5 separate regions of the Homo sapiens genome follow, and regions 1, 2, 3 and 5 are each linked to region 4. Evidence: promoter capture Hi-C in 16 types of primary human blood cells and fetal thymus (Javierre and others, 2016). All regions are on one chromosome and are shown on one strand. Each heading gives the region's core, a stretch centred on a gene start or on the middle of the fragment in contact. The rest is flanking DNA. Distances are from core to core; before and after follow the strand shown.

Evidence for each region. Contacts are between HindIII fragments. The CHiCAGO score rates a contact against its expected background, and 5 or more counts as called.
Region 1: a contact is called between a fragment that was not itself captured here and the fragment with the promoter of CDK14 in region 4, in 1 of 17 cell types (total B cells). The highest score is 5.4, in total B cells.
Region 2: a fragment that was not itself captured here is called in contact with the fragment with the promoter of CDK14 in region 4 in 2 of 17 cell types (total B cells and naive B cells); the score reaches 6.2 in total B cells.
Region 3: a fragment that was not itself captured here is called in contact with the fragment with the promoter of CDK14 in region 4 in 1 of 17 cell types (monocytes); the score reaches 6.9 in monocytes.
Region 5: a fragment that was not itself captured here is called in contact with the fragment with the promoter of CDK14 in region 4 in 1 of 17 cell types (naive B cells); the score reaches 5.1 in naive B cells.

The regions. Positions count from the first base shown.
Region 1 is chr7:90,954,556-90,958,090 of GRCh38, forward strand. It overlaps CDK14 (cyclin dependent kinase 14), which reads left to right. Exons shown (of 15, transcript NM_001287135.2): 9 at 1,142-1,262. Among named protein-coding and RNA genes, the nearest start is that of FZD1, 310 kb to the right of the region's middle. The HindIII fragment of the contact is 525 bases long and covers 1,275-1,799 here.
Region 2 is chr7:91,052,621-91,056,197 of GRCh38, forward strand. All of the region lies in intron 11 of CDK14 (cyclin dependent kinase 14), which reads left to right. Among named protein-coding and RNA genes, the nearest start is that of FZD1, 210 kb to the right of the region's middle. The HindIII fragment of the contact is 4,253 bases long and covers 1-3,577 here.
Region 3 is chr7:90,176,713-90,180,386 of GRCh38, forward strand. All of the region lies in intron 2 of STEAP2-AS1 (STEAP2 antisense RNA 1), which reads right to left. Among named protein-coding and RNA genes, the nearest start is that of STEAP1, 24 kb to the left of the region's middle. RefSeq lists enhancers at 2,182-2,241, 2,252-2,301, 3,520-3,674. The HindIII fragment of the contact is 1,055 bases long and covers 1,674-2,728 here.
Region 4 is chr7:90,594,173-90,597,883 of GRCh38, forward strand. It overlaps CDK14 (cyclin dependent kinase 14), which reads left to right and starts at 2,149. Exons shown (of 15, transcript NM_001287135.2): 1 at 2,149-2,546. The coding sequence starts at 2,456. RefSeq lists silencers at 1,757-1,956, 1,977-2,286, 2,477-2,676, 2,737-2,786. The HindIII fragment of the contact is 4,165 bases long and covers 1,394-3,711 here.
Region 5 is chr7:91,015,001-91,018,644 of GRCh38, forward strand. The region is part of intron 10 of CDK14 (cyclin dependent kinase 14); the gene reads left to right. Among named protein-coding and RNA genes, the nearest start is that of FZD1, 250 kb to the right of the region's middle. The HindIII fragment of the contact is 5,554 bases long and covers 1-3,644 here.

The DNA of each region.
Region 1 (3,535 bases), core at 287-2,786, 360 kb after region 4:
AATCCCATATTCCAGAGGTAACCACTGAAGACATTTAAATGTATTTTCTGCCAAACTTTTTTCTTTTTTTTTTTTTTTTTTTTTTTTGAGACGGAGTCTCGCTCTATCACCCAGGCTGGAGTGCAGTGGCGGGATCTCGGCTCACTGCAAGCTCCGCCTCCCGGGTTCACGCCATTCTCCTGCCTCAGCCTCCCAAGTAGCTGGGACTACAGGCGCCCGCCACTACGCCCGGCTAATTTTTTTGTATTTTTAGTAGAGACGGGGTTTCACCGGTTTAGCCGGGATGGTCTCGATCTCCTGACCTCGTGATCCGCCCGCCTCGGCCTCCCAAAGTGCTGGGATTACAGGCGTGAGCCACCGCGCCCGGCCCTTTTTTTTTTTTAGAGGGAAAAAAAAACAGACCTACAAATATTTTTTCTGTGCATGAGTATTTATGGTTATGAGGTCAAATTGCGTATACCTTTTCACTTAACATCTTCCCAGTTTAAAAAAATTCTTAGAGGACATTTTAATTTATCATATATAATCTCATCAATGTATGTACCAGATTTGACTATTCCTTTATAGTTATTTATTTAGATGTTTTTTCAAAAGAGCTTCTGCAATAAGCATTTCCTAGTGAGTATTTGACAGAACACTGAAACCACAAGAAATTTTAGGACAATTCTTTGGGGAAAGTATTATACTCTCCTCTTGCAGATTCACAATACGCATTAGAACAATTAAGAAAACTGAGAAGTTTCACAATTTAAGGATTCTTTAAGTTTCTAAATCTGTTTTTTCTCAGTTATTTGACCAAGGAACCCTTTCTCACAATACTTATAAATCTGAAAAATTCAAGAGACTTCTAAGCTCCTGTGTTATGATAGTTTGTGAATTATTTGTTTACTCTGCTGATATTTTATTAGATTCATGACATCAGTGCTTTATTAGGAAATAGAAATGTTTTAATGGTTATTAGCATGTGTTAAAAACAGAAACCACAATATGCTTTCCCCAGTTTTCTATTAACCTTGATACTGCACTCCTGATTCTGTATTAAAAGGTCGGGTTTGACCTTTAAGAATGTGAACGTTCAAATTTAAATTCCCTTGTTTTGCTAATGCCTGTTAAACTTCTTTATGTTTCATATAACCCACAGGTCTTGCAAGAGCAAAATCCGTCCCTAGCCACACATACTCCAACGAAGTGGTTACCTTGTGGTACAGACCTCCAGATGTCCTTCTAGGCTCAACAGAATATTCCACCTGCCTTGACATGTGGTGAGAAATGGAAGCTTTACTCTAGCTAATCTATCTGTAGTGCTTGGTCTGGGTCAAGCCTAGACAAACATCCTAACAGTTTGAATGAAGATTAATGGTGCAGGAGTGTTTGCCTGCATGTGGCCATGCTGCTGGATGTTTTAAAACATGATTGGGAATGTTCTCTAATTAGAGTCTCCTTTGCAGATGCTGTGTGGTAATGGTTCTTGATGGACAGGGGCAGAGACATTTTTCTAACTGTCAGTATCATGATTTTTCTCTCCCTAAGAGTCTTAATTTGTGGCTGTATCTTATAACAAGGGAAGTATGTATCTCCAGACGGCAACAGGATTGGAGTAGCAGGGAGTATGTTTAAATTTGCAACAAAGCTCTGATGAGTGGTCTGAAAATTTTGGTGTAACTGTTAGGCACCAGTTTGACTCACAGTATGTACTTGAAAACTTCTGACACTAGTTATCCAAAATGAAATAAAATGACTACTTTTAAAAAATATTATATGTTTAATTTTAGGTCTCACTTTCACAAATGCTTTAGCAAAGCTTAAAAATCTATTTTATGAGGTCCAATGACTGTCAAGATTTAATTCATAATTAGCATTAATGATAAACTATGCTGAGTTCCCAACTAAGTGTGATCCAAATCAAACAATCAAATAAGGGAATAATCTAATTTTTGGCATGAAGGACGGACTGTTGAACATATCTTTTATTAATAAAATAATTTCTTTTCAGACTCACAGTTGTGTCCAAAGTAAAACAATTTACATAGCACATGGCTATTTTTTTATTTTTATGTATTTATTTATTATTATTATACTTTAAGTTTTAGGGTACATGTGCACAATGTGAAGGTTAGTTACATATGTATACGTGTGCCATGCTGGTGCGCTGCACCCACTAACTCTTCATCTAGCGTTAGGTATATCTCCCAATGCTGTCCCTCCCCCCTCCCCCCAACCCACAACAGTCCCCAGAGTGTGATGTTCCCCTTCCTGCATCCATGTGTTCTCATTGTTCAATTCCCACCTATGAGTGAGAATATGTGGTATTTGGTTTTTTGTTCTTGTGATAGTTTATTGAGAATGATGATTTCCAGTTTCATCCATGTCCCTACAAAGGACATGAACTCATCATTTCTTATGGCTGCATAGTATTCCATGGTGTATATGTGCCACATTTTCTTAATCCAGTCTATCATTGTTGGACATTTGGGTTGGTTCCAAGTCTTTGCTATTGTGAATAATGCCGCAATAAACATACGTGTGCATGTGTCTTTATAGCAGCATGATTTATAGTCCTTTGGGTATATACCCAGTAATGGGATGGCTGGGTCAAATGGTATTTCTAGTTCTAGATCCCTGAGGAATCGCCACACTGACTTCCACAATGGTTGAACAAGTTTACAGTCCCACCAACAGTGTAAAAGTGTTCCTATTTCTCCACATCCTCTCCAGCACCTGTTGTTTCCTGACTTTTTAATGATTGCGATTCTAACTGGTGTGAGATGGTATCTCATTGTTGGAAGTTCTGGCCAGGGCAATTAGGCAGGAGAAGGAAATAAAGGGTATTCAATTAAGAAAAGAGGAAGTCAAATTGTCCCTGTTTGCAGACGACATGATTATATATCTAGAAAACCCCATTGTCTCAGCCCAAAATCTCCTTAAGCTGATAAGCAACTTCAGCAAAGTCTCAGGATACAAAATCAATGTACAAAAATCACAAGCATTCTTATACACCAACAACAGACAAACAGAGAGCCAAATCATGAGTGAACTCCCGTTCACAATTGCTTCAAAGAGAATAAAATACCTAGGAATCCAACTTACAAGGGATGTGAAGGACCTCTTCAAGGAGAACTACAAACCACTGCTTGAGGAAATAAAAGAGGATACAAACAAACGGAAGAACATTCCATGCTCATGGGTAGGAAGAATCAATATCGTGAAAATGGCCATACTGCCCAAGGTAATTTACAGATTCAATGCCATCCCCATCAAGCTACCAATGACTTTCTTCACAGAATTGGAAAAAACTACTTTAAAGTTCATATGGAACCATAAAAGAGCCCGCATCGCCAAATCAATCCTAAGCCAAAAGAACAAAGCTGGAGGCATCGCACATGGCTGTTTTATAATAGGAGTCATTTTCCCTGAATGATTATGCCCCCATATGTAGAATTCCACTGTGTATTCATATAATTTTATGACCTCAGTAAAACTGCAGTATGTGTTGTTTATCTTACTGTTGTATACTTACTTACTTCAGTGCTCTACC
Region 2 (3,577 bases), core at 226-2,725, 460 kb after region 4:
TTCAGATGCTCAAAAAGGAATACACTGTGAAGTTCAGTGAGGAAAAAAATGCTGCTAGACCAGAAGCAATTAAAAGTGATGAAATTTAGAATAAAATAATTATATTTTCCAAAATCAAGCAAGAGAATAGAGCATTTCTAAAGTGGTTATATTACTTCTAAGGAAAAGTTAGCCAATGGAAAAGACTATTTGATTCAGGAAACTTTGAAGAAAATGGACTGTCTCCCAACGAATGAAATAATATAAAGAATTTGCCATTGGAGGCAATTGGGGAATGGTGATATTTTAAACACACTCTGCTAAAAACTAATCCTACAGACACATTGACCTTAAAGGGAATGTTTACATACGGACTTAGCTGTATCAAGGCTTTGTAATGAGGCAAAAAAAAAAGCCGTCTCTTTAAGTCCTTCCTCTTCTCTGGCCTGACTGGGACCCCAAAACCAAACAGGTCCACACTTTTTTGTTCCAGAGGGAGGAAGTAAATCATTTCAGAAATAAAATACTATGGTGATAACACCTTACGTTTTATGCTATATTTTATTATTTACAAAGCATTTTAATATATTATCTCATTTGATAGTTAGAATAACTGCATTATAATAATGCTTTTTTCCTAATATTGTTATCCCATTTACAGATGAAGAAACTGGGAAATTGAGGCTCAGAGAGATAGTGTGGTTTGCCCAGAGATCTCATCCCTCCAGGCTGTAGCAGAGCCAAAACTCAAACCCAGGTCTTTCAACTCTAAGCCATTCTCAGTGATGCCTCCTCCTCTCTTTAAGAGAGCTTCCCTGCCCACAGACCTAGACCTACGAAGGAGAATTGTCAGGCTCTTCCCAACTCTGTCTTGTGGCATCTTGGAAAAGACCTCTGTCTTCTTGTACATACCAGATCCACCCTCCACTTGCTAGGTATGGGCATATTCTTCCGCCCTTTAAACCTATGCCTCCAATAAATCATCAGCTCCAAAATCTCCTCTGCAGATGTTTAGTCTCAGATGTGTAGTCCTTAACACATACTATCGGAACTGCCCACTTTCCTCATTTGCAGATGTGAGGATGTTTGAACCCTTAGCCTTTATTGACATTCTTGGCTTTTCCTGAGTCTTTTAGAAGGTGATAGAAAAGCTGTGGATGCAGCAGAAATTGTTGTCGGGGTGGGATATTCCATGCAGGAAGACTGCGGGGGGGCTCTTTGTGCCATGATGTTGCCCTGCACAGACCACACCTGCAGTGAGGGGAGGCCTGTGAAGTGCTGAGATACCTTCCTTACTCTTCTAGAAGAGTCATGTCTGCTCCATCCAGCCTACAGACTTGCTACGTAAATTAAATGAGATAAACTATTTTTACATTCCCTTCAATATTTGTTATTTATACTCTACCTATTTTTAAGCAGATTTGAGCTAGCTGACATAATTGATATAAAAGTACTTTTAAACTGTTAGGGGCATGTAACTGCAAAATAATTTTTTTTTTTTTTTTTTTTTTTACCATTTATATACCATGTGCTCTGCCTGCTATCTCCTTTCCCACTTACTCTTTACACTTTACCTCAGGAATTTTAAATTATTTTTATGATTGATAGCAACTATAATGATTATGGGTTAGGTCTAGGTGTATGGGCTGTAACTATGTGATGGTTATTAAAATGGACTTTAAAAATTATTACGTAAATATCTGCTTTTTATCTCAGATTTTATTGCTAAAAGCCTTGTGGGTCTGCTTGACACAAGCCTTAGGGTATTTAGAGCTCTCCCCACCCACCATCAGCTATCACCTTTGTGAACTTTGCTGTCCCTCCTCCCACAAATAAATGCTGCTTTAATCACATAGTGAAAAAGCCAGTTAATTACTAAATTTATGAACTATGTGAACATTATAAAGCTAAGGAAGTAAAATATGTAAACATGACAGGAAGGGCAGACTGCACTTTCTGGTTGAGCCAGCCATACTGGGAGGTCACTGGTGGTTGCTGGAGAGCAGATGCTAAAGTTGAGAGTCGGTGTTTGCATCAGCAGTAACTGCTTTACATCTGCTTATGAGCTTGGATTCCTGTTGAGTGCTTACTAGGTGCCAGGCAGTATTGTGGGTGCTAAAGATGCAGTTTGAACAAAGCGGATGAATCCTTTTTCTTGCAGAGCTCACATGCTAGAGAGGGGACTAATAATAGACAAATTACAACTTACCATGCCTGTGAGCACAGGGACAGCGGCAAGAAACAATTCAGGGGGGCAGGTCCTTGGAAAGCCAAGGTGAAGAGTCAGGATTTTACTTGAAGTGTGAGTGGAATCATCGGAGGGTTTTGAAGAGAGGAAGAAATCAATGCTTTATGTTTTCAGAAAGACCTACAGGCTACAAAAAGTCACGGACTCATTTCAGAGCTGGAAAGAGGTTTCATCTGAAGTGTGAAATCCTCTTGATTGGTCATTTCTGCCTGCAGCCCTGGGTCAAGAAGGGTCTATAAAAGCGAGTACTAACTCACAGGGAAATTATTCTCCTACCAGTTAGCAGTGATGCCAGAGACACAAAGGATATTTTTCCTCATAGGTCCATAGCTGACCAGGGATTTGTTATAAAATAAATCGTAGATATGGCCAACGATATGAAATAAAAATAAAAAAGAAACAACCAAAAACCTTGATAATCACTTAAAAATGTAAAATTAGCAATTCATTTCCCCTACAATAGGTAGGTTAAGAAGGGAAATCCCTGTAGGAATGTTGTAAACCCATTTCAGTACAAAGGAGGGACAATCTGTACTTTGTCTGGATGTACTTGAAGAATTTCACATTTATTTTCACTAGAGGGCATCAGTAATGATGGAGACTAGCAGAATGTCTAGAAAATGCCAGAAAAAAAAGTAGTAAGATTAAATTTTCAAGGGAAAATGAAGTTCTACTGATAGCAGACTTATTTTTAAAAATCCCAAATAAACTGGTTTTATTAGTTCTACTCGCTGGAATTTTGTAAAATTTATTTTGGGAGTTATTCACACCTCATATCGCTAAAGTTGATATAGAGGGCCAATCACCATATAAAGACTTCTTTACCTCTTCAGTAATTCCAACCCACCTAAGAGTATTAAAAGTCTTGTATACTGTCCAATTTGTATAATTTGGTTAAAGTCATATTGAAGAAAAGAATTTAACTTTTAGCCTAAGAATTTATAGCAGAATTAAATGAAGACAGGGACGATTTACTTGATACTGAAAGAACTGTCATCTCTTTTAAAATAAAACATTTGGTTGAGTTGTTATATACCAGTGGCATTTCCATAAACTGGCCGTACACTTTTAATTGCCTTCCTAAGTTTGTAACCTAATGTTTTATGTTTATCCTTCCCACAAATTAATGCCGGCAAGTATATAACTAGGAATCTATGCATTGTATAAAGTCCTCCATAACTCCTCACCCTGAACTTTTAGGTCCCTTTCCAAAAACTTTTAAAAATCAAGATCTTAGGAAGGGAGATGAGGGGATTGGAAGTTTGGATGTAAAACAAGAAAACGTTGTCCCTCGTCTTCAAGGTGGGTGTTGACCACAGTACCTTGAGTAGGACACTGTATCTTTAGGGA
Region 3 (3,674 bases), core at 951-3,450, 420 kb before region 4:
GTCTGAAGGGCGCCAAGGCAGCAGGGGTCTGGTGTGTCAGCACTGCTCCAAGCATGTGCACCCACCCAGATTGTGACAGCACCCAGGCTCAGCCTCAATTTTGCTTCAAGATCAGAGCAGGCACCAGGAGTGGGGAGAAGCCAGGCTGTGGGAGCAGACACCTCCAAGCCTGAGGGGGCAGAGGGGCTTCCTGGGCCCCCAAGAACACAGGTATGCCCAGGTCCACAGCTGTGGCTTGGGTGGCTGCAGCTGTACCTGGGAAGCTTGAGGCTTCTGCACTGCCAATTCGGAAGGGCATGAGGCTTCTGCCTGTTCCCAGCTCTCACCAGCTCCATGAAGCTCAAAGCCAAGGCAGCGCCTCCCCACCTGCAGCTGGTGTCTTCGCAGCCACCACTCCAGGCAGGCGGCTGCTGCCATCAACATTACCCGACTTAAAATTATATTACAAGGCTTTCTATCAGGGTAAACTGTCAGTCAAAAAAAGAACAAAAAAGAAATAGAAAAAAATTATGCTACAAAAATATAGTAATCAAAATATCATGGTACTGGCATAAAAATGGACACATAGATAAACAGAACAAAATAGAGAACTCAGAAGTAAAGCCATGTACCTCCAGCCAACTCATCTTTAACCAAGTTGACAAATGTAGAAGAATGAAACTGGTCCCCTATCTCTCACCATATACAAAAATTAACCCAAGATAGATTAAAGACTTAAATTTAAGACCCAAAACTAAAAAAATCCTAGAAGAACACCTAGGAAAAACTCTTCTGGACATTGGCCTAGACAAAGAATTCATGACTAAGGCCTCAAAAGATTCAGAGGGGTAGGAGGGGAGTAAAGGATGAGAAATTACTCAGTAGGTACAATGTACGTTATTTGGGTAGTGGTTACACTAAAAGCCCAAACTTTACCTTTATGTAATATAACCATTTAAGAAAACGAACTTGTATTCCCTAAATTTATACAAATTAAAAATGAATGAATGAATGAAACAAGACACATGGGCAAATTATAAAACTGTGCTATGAATTAAGATGGTGTGATTAACTATTTACACCCAGGATCCAAAAAGGAGAAAACTTTACATATTAATAGGGAAACTAATTTCCAAAATAGATATAGCTGAAGATTAATTTACAGAACTAAACGTCTAAACTGAGGGATTCTCCCAGAACACAGTTCAAAAGAAAAAATTCATAAAATGGAAAACTTTAAAGAAGAGTTAAGGGGCATGAAAAGAGACCCAAATGATCTCAAATACCCATTGTGTAAGTTTCAGAAGGATGCAATAGAAGCAATAAAATAAGAAAACAAATAAATAATGGAGGGAAATTTCTTGGAGCTAGAGAAAGACACTAGACTTCAGAGCAAAACCTCTGTAAGATGAAGGGGCTGAGGAGGGAGGGGAGGAATGCACGCCTTTGCAAGCTTGATGGAACTTCAGGCCACCAAGGATAAAGAGAAAAATCCCAAAAACTTCCATAAGGAAGAAACAGACTTTTTTCTTTGGAAAGAAGAATCTGATTCCAAATAATTGAGGAGACAAAGTAGGTGATTATGCACATTGCTAAGATTTGGCTCTAGAAAAAGCTGGGCAGTAGATGGTATTGCTAGAAGGGATGTCATCAATAGTGAGCTAAGTGTACTAAAATTATCATTTTTCTCACAAAGCTTCATGTTCTGAAGGGAAAGAGGCAATTATAATTCTGGTCCCAGCTATAAATGGGCTGGTGCCAATGTATCATCACCCAACTGCTTCTCTAAAATCCAGCTAGCATCCGTCTCTCATAAGAAGCAGCATTTATACGAAGACATTCTAATGTCTACACATCTATAATCCAATATCTGTAATATAATCTATAATCTAATATCTGTAATCCAATATAATATCTGTAAATGCTAACTAGCATCATTTCAAATTATAAACCCCTATGAAGTCTCCCTGATAACTGACAATGAAGCCAGCATACGGAGACTTTTCCAGAGTCATGAGCTTGTGGGTGGCAGAACAAGGGCTGGGAGGCAGGCCTCCTGACTTTGTAGCCAGTACTGGTGCCACCATGTCATGCTGACAGCTCAGCACCAATCCTTCTATACTCTCGTGTTTTCTCCTGTTTGTGATAAAGTATGTACATCTGTGTCATTGGAAGGCTTGGAGAAGAGTCCAAAGGTGCAAAACAAAGCAAATCTCCCCACGCCTGGCAGAATCTTCAGTCCTGGCCTAATGAGCTCACCAGCTCAGTAAGTTCTGCGACTGCTTCGGGTTACCAAAAGAATAGAGTATGTAACAGTGCTAGGAAAAGAGACACTTAAAAACCCACATCCAGGCATTGTTCAATGACTGCTCATAAATACTTTATGGCAAAATTCTTTCTGGTGGCACAGAAGGCCATGAACAATCTGACACCTCCATTAGTCACCTCTGTTAGTCACCACTACGACTTCCTGACCCATCTCTGGGTTTCACTTCAGTTTTTAGATACCCAGCCCTAACAATTAAGCAAAACTTCATTGATAGTTCCTCTTCAAAAGTATTTCCAGAATAACTATTAAAATCCCATGGACTAGTCAAGATAGTGAGATATGCTTTTGAGTGAACAGCCACCATTTCTTCCTTTTAGAGATTTATTTTTTAACTTAACAAAAAGCAAATCTAATGTGAAACTTAATGAAAATTGTTTCAAAAACTTGAAATGCAACTACAAAATAGCCCATTATTGCCTAAGCTTTCTATACTTAACTAGTTTTCTAAATCTATATTACATAGGCTAGAGAAATAACATATTGTTTTTATATGTACAATCCAAATCTAGTCTCTCCGAATTTTCTTTAAGGCCAACTATTTTAATATAGGCCAGTATTTTACTCTATTATTCAATCGCAAACCACGTTTCTTTCCTCACAGTAGTGCATTTTGACAAAATCAATCTTTTCATTCTTTTCAGCAAATAATACAGAAATTGGGATTCATTCATGAGAAGTCAGTGAAAATAAAAATGATTTCAGATTTTCTTTACATTTGTATAATATCACTAGTAGAGGAGGAATGGCTTTCCAGACCACTTGTTAGGAAAAAAATATGAGTGGGAAATTACACTAAGCCTATATAAACAATTCCAAAGTAGAATTCTCTTTTCTCCTTGGTAAATAAATGCTTGATTTTCATAATTCAACATATAATTTTAAACTAGGGCAACCAAACTTGTGACATGAAAAGAGGAATTTTATTGTTAAGTTACACTGGTATACTGCAAAGTCATACCAAAAAAAAAGGAGCAAAATATATTTTTTAATAATCTTACACAAGAATGCTCAAGAATCTTCTACATGAGGTAACTACAGAAAAAAAGAACACTAGGTCAGCTGAAGGCTGAACTAAATTTGTTCCATAAAAGTTGGTGAGTTTCATTTTTCGCTTCTAAGGGGATAAAGGAAAAAGAATGTGCATTGTGTTTAAGAAAACCCAGAATACTGCCAAAAGTTTGCCACCCACTTTGGCATTCTGCCTTTATCCTGAAAGATAATTTCTTCTCCATTATAAACAGCCTATGTGAGATGAACTGTCAACAAGAGGGAAGCTAGAGTGAGAAACAGAGAAAAAGAACAGCATCATGCAAGGAAAGTTATGAAACAAATTGACTCTTGATTCTCTCTTGGCTTGCCTTTCTTA
Region 4 (3,711 bases), core at 899-3,398:
TGCATACCTTTGTATGCTTTTACCATAATTTAAGAAGAAGCTGACTACTTTTTTTAAGTCAGAAATACTGGGAAGGGGAAGAGCATGGTGGTGGTGCACGCCTGTAATCCCAGAACTTTGGGAGGTCAAGGCGGGCGGATTGCTTGAGCTCAAGAGTAGGAGACCAGCGTCGGTAACATGATGAAACCCCGTTTCTACAAAAATTAGCCAGGCGTGGTGGTGCGCACCCGTAGTCCCAGCTATTTAGGAGGCTGAGGTGGGAGGATGGCTTGAGCCCAGGAGAGAAGGTTGCAGTCAGCCGAGATGGCGCCACTGCACTCCAGCCTGGGCGACAGGCCCTGTCTCGGAAAAAAAAAAAAAAATACTGCGAAGGTAAAATAAACATATATTTAACATATTATATATTTGAAACAGCCATTGTCACAGTGGATAACAGTCACAGGTGTATAATAGTGAAAGTTCGTTAAATTAATATTTCTTCGTGTTTGTTGACTCGTACAACCCATTAGTGTTTTGATTGGTTGCATTTGTCTTTTCATTCATAACTGCTGAAAACTTTCTCCCTAACTAACCTGAGGAAGTGGTAAAAGTCAAACTTTTTTCCGGTATGAGGCCACCCTTGGTGCTGTCTGTAATTATCTAGACATGGCAGCCAGGATCCAACAGCTTTGCGTTTTAACTCATATGGTCTTTCCTGGCGAATTCCTTGCCCCCCTCTGCTCCCCACTTAGCTTGACTTCCTGTCTTTTATCATCCGCAATCTATCAAGATCCTACAATGTGCTCAGTGTAGGGCGGAACAAATCACTGTTTTACCTCACAATTTAAGGAAGGCAGGGGGCTAGTTTTTAAGATAAAAATCTTTTAACAAAACATAAACTCCCCAAAATTTCCTACAAGCCAAACAGCATTGTCACACCCTCACAAGCTCTTATTACTTACACAGCCAAATGACTCAAGATTACTAACGTTTCTATTCATAAGGAGTTTGCTGGCCTCAGATCAACACAATCAAGCCCTCCCCCACCTTCCTTCTCTCTCCCCTGGGAGACTGACGTTTGGAACTCACGCCGCACCAGGTTTTTTCAGAATGAAGACGATGTGTGTTCGCTGCTGGAACTGTTTGTCCTGGGATTTTATAAACACCTCCCCCACTCCTTTTTAAAGTTCTGTTTTTGAGGTGGGGGAAAAGGAGGTCGGAATCTGTTTAGCCTTTAAATCTCCCAATTCAGAAATATATTCTAAGAATTTAATAGAAAAAGACCAAGGGCTGTGTCTGCTATTTACTGCAGAACTGGGTATTCCTATCAGAAATCACCTACATGTGTCACCAAGATCAGAGACAAGGATGAGGGAAACAGCATGATCCCTGCCTTCTGGAGGGTTACAGTTGAAGCTTCCGCTGCTTCTGCACTTGACCTCAAAACAAACAAAAAACCCACCGCAAACAACAACAAAAAAATCCAGGCCCACCTTTCCCCTTGGATCTTTCACTTGACAGCTTTCTCGGCCCAAAATAAGGCACCCTACATCTGAATGCATCCCTAAGGCCTTACCGCACCCAGTCCAGGAGGCAGTCCTGGCAGCTGCCCTCCACCGAACTCCGCGCTTTTTCACACACGCTCGTGGAAGGAGAAAACCGCTCAAACAACTGGACTCGGCCCGTTTCCTTTCGGTAACCTCCCCACAGCCCAACACGCTGTCCCCAGACGCTGCCCGCTCCCACCCCGGTCCCTTCGTGATCCTCCCGCGCGCGGGCGGGGCGGGGGAGGAGCGCGGGGGCGGCCGGGAGGGGCGCGGCCGGGAGGGGGCGCCGCCGGGGCGCGAGCCAGACACAGAGGGCCGCGGAGGACGCGGGAGGCGAGCGGGGAGCCGAGGTCGTGCTAGGATCCCGCGCCCAGGGGCCTTCGTCGAGGGAGGGGCGTGGCGGCGGCAGCAGGAGGGCAGCAGGAGCTGTCAGGCTGGCGGTTCCGCGCCGCGGCTCCTTCTGCGCTGCGCCCGCAACTCTGGGCTGAGAACTTCTCCCGCCGGCCCACTCGCCCTCGCCCCGCGCACTCGGCGCCAGGCGACTCCCGCACCTTGTACCCGGCCCGCCCCGCCTCCTCCTTCGGCCGCACCACTCCCCCTGCCGGCCGCGCTTCTCTCCGTTACAAAGGAGGGAAAATGAGCCGGGCGGCGGCGGCGCGGCGCGGGGCCACCACGGCGGCGGCGAGCGCGGCCGCCCCCGGCACCACGTAAACCGCCCCCGCCCGCCCAGCTGCGGCCCAGGCCGGAGCGGAGCCTGCCGTCCTCCGCCTGCCTGCTGCTCGCCTCCCTAGACCTGCGCGTCGCTTCCCGGCCCGCCGAGGAGGTGGTGGAGGAGGAGGCGCCGCTTTCCCCGCGGCGCGCGCCCTCGCCGTTGTCTGAGCTGTGCCTGGACCAGTTTGGGGAAGTTGTCGGGGCTCCGCGTCGCCCAGATGTGTGACCTCATTGAGCCGCAGCCGGCCGAGAAGATCGGCAAGATGAAGAAGTTGCGGAGAACTTTGTCGGAGAGTTTCAGTCGCATTGGTGAGTAGCGCGCTGCCCCCGGCCCCCCCAGCGCCCGCTCCCCTCGGCCTGCGCCCCCGCCGCGTTCCTGGCACCAGCCATGCAGCTGCCAGCGGGGCTGGCGTGGGGTGCGTTGTAGGCGGGGATCGAGGGCACAGTGCTAGGGACCCGGGGGAGGGCAAGGACGTAAAGGAAAGAGACCCCTCTTCCTCAGGATCTGGGGGTTCATTTGTAGATTCTCTCAAGCCTACAATATGGGTTCTCCCCTCCTCCGCCACTAGTGCTCGCCCTTTCGCGCGCGTGGGGGACGGGCGAGGGGACCCCTCGGCCCCCACCGCGCAAGGGGCTGCGCGGCTGCTTGGGCCACTTGTTATTTTTTGCGCACAGGCTTGGATATTGGGCGTTTAGTCAGTAATTTAGCTTTGGAAATTGGTGAAACGTTAGACTGTGCCCTGGTATTGTTTAACGTATCCAACCTAAAGGGAAGTGGGACAGTTACCTTGGGACCTATTGTTCGGTACTTCGGGTCCTGGAAAGCGAGATTTGGGTGTTCAGTCTCGAGGTCTCTGAATCTTCCCGCTGCTGGAGAGAAATGCGCGCTGTGGAGTTGTCTGGACATTTAGGAATGTCTCTCGAACTTGTTCCATTTAATAGAGCTCAGGGGCTGTTGTCTTTAAACCAAACAACAAACCAACTGACCAACAGTGTTTAGGACAGTGACGAATAAATGCATGTCACAGGTTGTAATAGGGTGACAGCAGTATCACGTGGAATGGGTTTGTTAGATTTTGAGTACTGGGCATAGAAAACCCCTTTTAACCTGAAGAGTTAGCTGCCTCCCCTACTGTCACAACTTTCACTAATAACATGTAACTGCCCTGAGCAAGAGAATGCTATAGACACAAAAGATAACCCCTGCGAGTCCCTAGGAAGCTGCCTAGTCTTTGTTTCACTTGTTTTAAATGTCATCCATGTTAACGAAAGTGTTAATGGAAATTAAACATAAAGGTACTTAATTCCTTAAAATAAAACCCTGGGATGCACATGAGTGTTACAGATATCCTTCCACCCATTCATTGTAAGATATGCAAACTTTCTTCAAGTGAGAGAGTACAATGGATCGAAATTTAGCCAAGTTTTTTTTTTTTTTTTTGTCTTTCGACTTAAAATTTTGTGTTGGTATGCA
Region 5 (3,644 bases), core at 298-2,797, 420 kb after region 4:
TAGCATACTTAGTATTTTTCTCTTATAGGAGTCTATCTATCTTTATGTAATAGATAATATTCTGTGTAATGTGTCATTTGACTTTGCCTTAATCTATTTGTGTTTTTGCTAATTTTTTTTCTGCTTTATATGAAGTCCAGATACTTTAATCTCTTCTTATCTGTGTCAACCTTACTTGCCCATTGTTCCTCTTTAACAAATCAGATCAGTTTTCTTACTAATTAAGGTCATTCTTATTTTTCTTTCCTTGAGCATTAACTCCTTCCTCAAGACACTCCCTGTTTTCACTCCCTTACCCAAGTTCTGTACATTCTTCACTGCTATGGGGTCTTTAGCCCCAGGATGCTCTTCCTTTTCATAATTACTCTTCACTGGCAATTCAGATCAAACAGATTGTACTTACCCTATATGCCATCTGCTCCCAGAATTGCTCACAATAATTGAAGATGTATCCTGTAGCATTCATCTTCCCAATGAATAGGTTTGTTGGGTCTCCCTACCCCAGCAGAGTATGTCTTGGGTTTTTTTTTTTTTTTTTTTTTTTTGAGACTGTGTCTCGCTTTGTTGCCCAGGCTGGAGTGCAGTGGCATGATCTCGGCTCACTGCAAGCTCCGCCTCCCGGGTTCAAGCCATTCTCCTGCTTCAGCCTCCCGAGTAACTGGGACTACAGGCACCCGCCACCATGCCCGGCTAATTTTTTGTATTTTTTTTAGTAGAGATGGGGTTGTCTTGGTTTTTTTATACCTTACTTCATGGAATATGGGTATGAATCAGTTCTGTGTTTATATACCAAAAAAAAAAGGCATATAAACATTTCACAAAAATATTTGTTAGATTTTCAACAAGCATCCTAAAATGATAGTTGATGATTTACATGTTAGCAGATTACTATGTTTTAATTACATTTTGGGAAGTTGATTGGGATTTTGGGGTTGACATGTACTATATCAAAATATTTCTCATTTAAAGTAATGGGAAATAGGTTATCAGTATTTTCATGGAGAACATTGGCTTTTCAGATATGGATAACTGACCTAAAGTGAGCAATGCCTATATGAACCATCATTAAATAAATAGATCCCTGCTGCTAACACCCTGGAGGATGTTGTGTGGAGCTACATAGAGCTGCCCACAAGAAAAGCAGCCCTACAACCAGTATCTACCTTCAGAACAATGCCTGTAGGTTAGCACTTCTTCCATTATGAATTTTGATTTGAGAATATTTGAAAACCAATGTGTTTTCTCTGCTGACAAAACATAGTACTCTAACATGTTTGTTTCTACCAATCACCCTTTACACACGCCTCTCATTTTACCATGATTTTTTGTGGCCTTTCAGGAATCACAGACTGAATTTTGTATTCCTCAATTTAGACGGTCCTAAACATGCTCTCATATATTGATGAAAAGCCATCAAGCCATTATCCTAGGTGGTACAATGAACTAGATAGATACTTAAATTTAGATTATACCCTGTTTTATGGTACCATATGGCTCCAGCTAGACTATCAACCTCTTTTGAAAGTGAGTTATGCATTTTAACTACCCCTCCTCAGCCCACCCAACCTGGTTTTCAATTATTTCAGATGTTGAGGGAGTACTTCTTGAGAGCTTTGCAGTTCAGGTCTTAAGCAGAATTGTAGGGTGCGTTTGAAATTTGAATAACATATTTATCTCTGACCTTGCTGTGGCAAATCCACTGCTACTATGTATGCTAGGTAGTTTTTATATTCATCATCTATAGCATGTTTTAAGGTTTCGGAACCTAGATTCTATTAGAGGAATAGGAGTGATATTTTTTCATAAGCCAAACTTTCAAACAAAACTAAACAAAGCATTGTCTATAGTAACTTCGCATACACCAGTGAAGGCACAGAAGATGACCTAGAAGGGACCTTTGCGAAAGCCTCCCAAAAACTTCATTGGGCCTATTTTTCCTATTAAGAAAAAGAAGAAAGGGAAATAAGCAACAAAATGATATTAAGGAAGAAGGCAGGCAAAATTCCTATGGGGCTCTTTTTTGACTGTTCTTGAGCCCCCAGTGGTGTTTCCTTTCTTCACTTTATCTGCTGGAATGTATTTGTAATGAGCAAAAATAATTTAAGTACACAGGTCTATTTTCTATGAAGTTAATACTTCTTAGTGAGATATATTTCACTTTTTAAGAGTGATTGACTTAAGAATTTATTCCCCACTGTTTTCTCCAATAGAAGAAGCTCTTTAAGATATATAAAGGAAAAAAGCTAAGTACAAACTAGGTCTAAGTTCACATTAGAGGAAGGAAGAGAAAGTGGCTAAACAGATGGACATGATACAATATCCAGGGCATGCAGGGAGGATTTCTAGCTGGTGGTTTCTTACAGGGCTCAGGACTGGGCCTATGCTAACAGACTCACTTTTTATTAAATACTCTCAAATATTGTTAATTGTTATTTTGTTTTTCATATGTGATATTTTCCTAATAATTTTTAAAGTTGGAGTTTAAAATGCTTTTAGAGAGATGAACTCTTTTAAAACAAGGTATCTCCAGGTCAGCTTTCATATACACTTTAGGCTCAGCAGTAGGTGCTTGGTGGTGCTGCCTGAATGATGGACTTTTGGTCTGTGTATTGCTATTATTGATTACTTCAGATGGTCGATAGGTGTTTGTGTTTGACATAGACAGAATAAATGGGCACTGCTATATGATGGATGAGTATCACAGCGTCTGGAAGGGCTCTGCCTTCACATAACTCTTTTAGGAAGGGCTAACACCAGTGTGTTCTGATATTGCTTTTGTTCTCTGAGTAGGTGAATCTGTGCACAGAGATAACAAGCCCTTTTGAATTACAGGGCCACTAGGGTACAAATGCTAGCCAGCCTTCCAGATTATTTTCATAACTAAAAATGGGCTGCAAACCAGCTTCATCCAATTTCGGGGATTGGATGAAACCAAATTAGATCTACTGTGCATCAGACAGAGGTTGTGCTGGCAAACAGCAGACATATAAATGTGACCATGTTTCCTAAAAGAGGCATGGGGGACAGTGGTATTTCTGAGTGAATTTATAACTGATGACGTAAATGGCAAGTACATACATACTGGATAAATTTGAAATCTTCAGTACAAAGGAAGCAAAAGAAACAGGAAGGAAAGGAAGCCATCTTTGTTCTAAAGCCTGAGGAGCAGTGTGATCTTGTAGAAAGAACCTAGGCCTTTGGGTGTGAGCTCCCCATTCTTCTTCTTCCTCTTCCATTTACTAGCTGTTTGTCCTCATACAATGAACTTCACTTCCTGACCCTTGTCTGTATCATGAACATAAGAGAACTGTCTTAGTCTCTTTGAGTTGCCATAACAAAATACCATAAGCTGGGTAAATTATAAACAATGGAAACTTACTTCTCATAGTTCTGGAGGCTGGGAAGGCCCTGGCATATTTGGTATCTGATGAGGGCCCTCTTTCTCACACAAAAAAATTAATAAATAAAAAATATCTTCTTGCAGAGTCTACACATGGTAGAAGGGGAAAACTCTATCTCCTCAACTCCTTACAAGGGCATTGATATGGTTTGGCTGTGTGTCCCCACCCAAATCTCATGTCGAATTGTAATCCCCAGTGTGAGAGGAGGGGCCTGGCAGGAGGTGATTGGATCATGGGTGGATT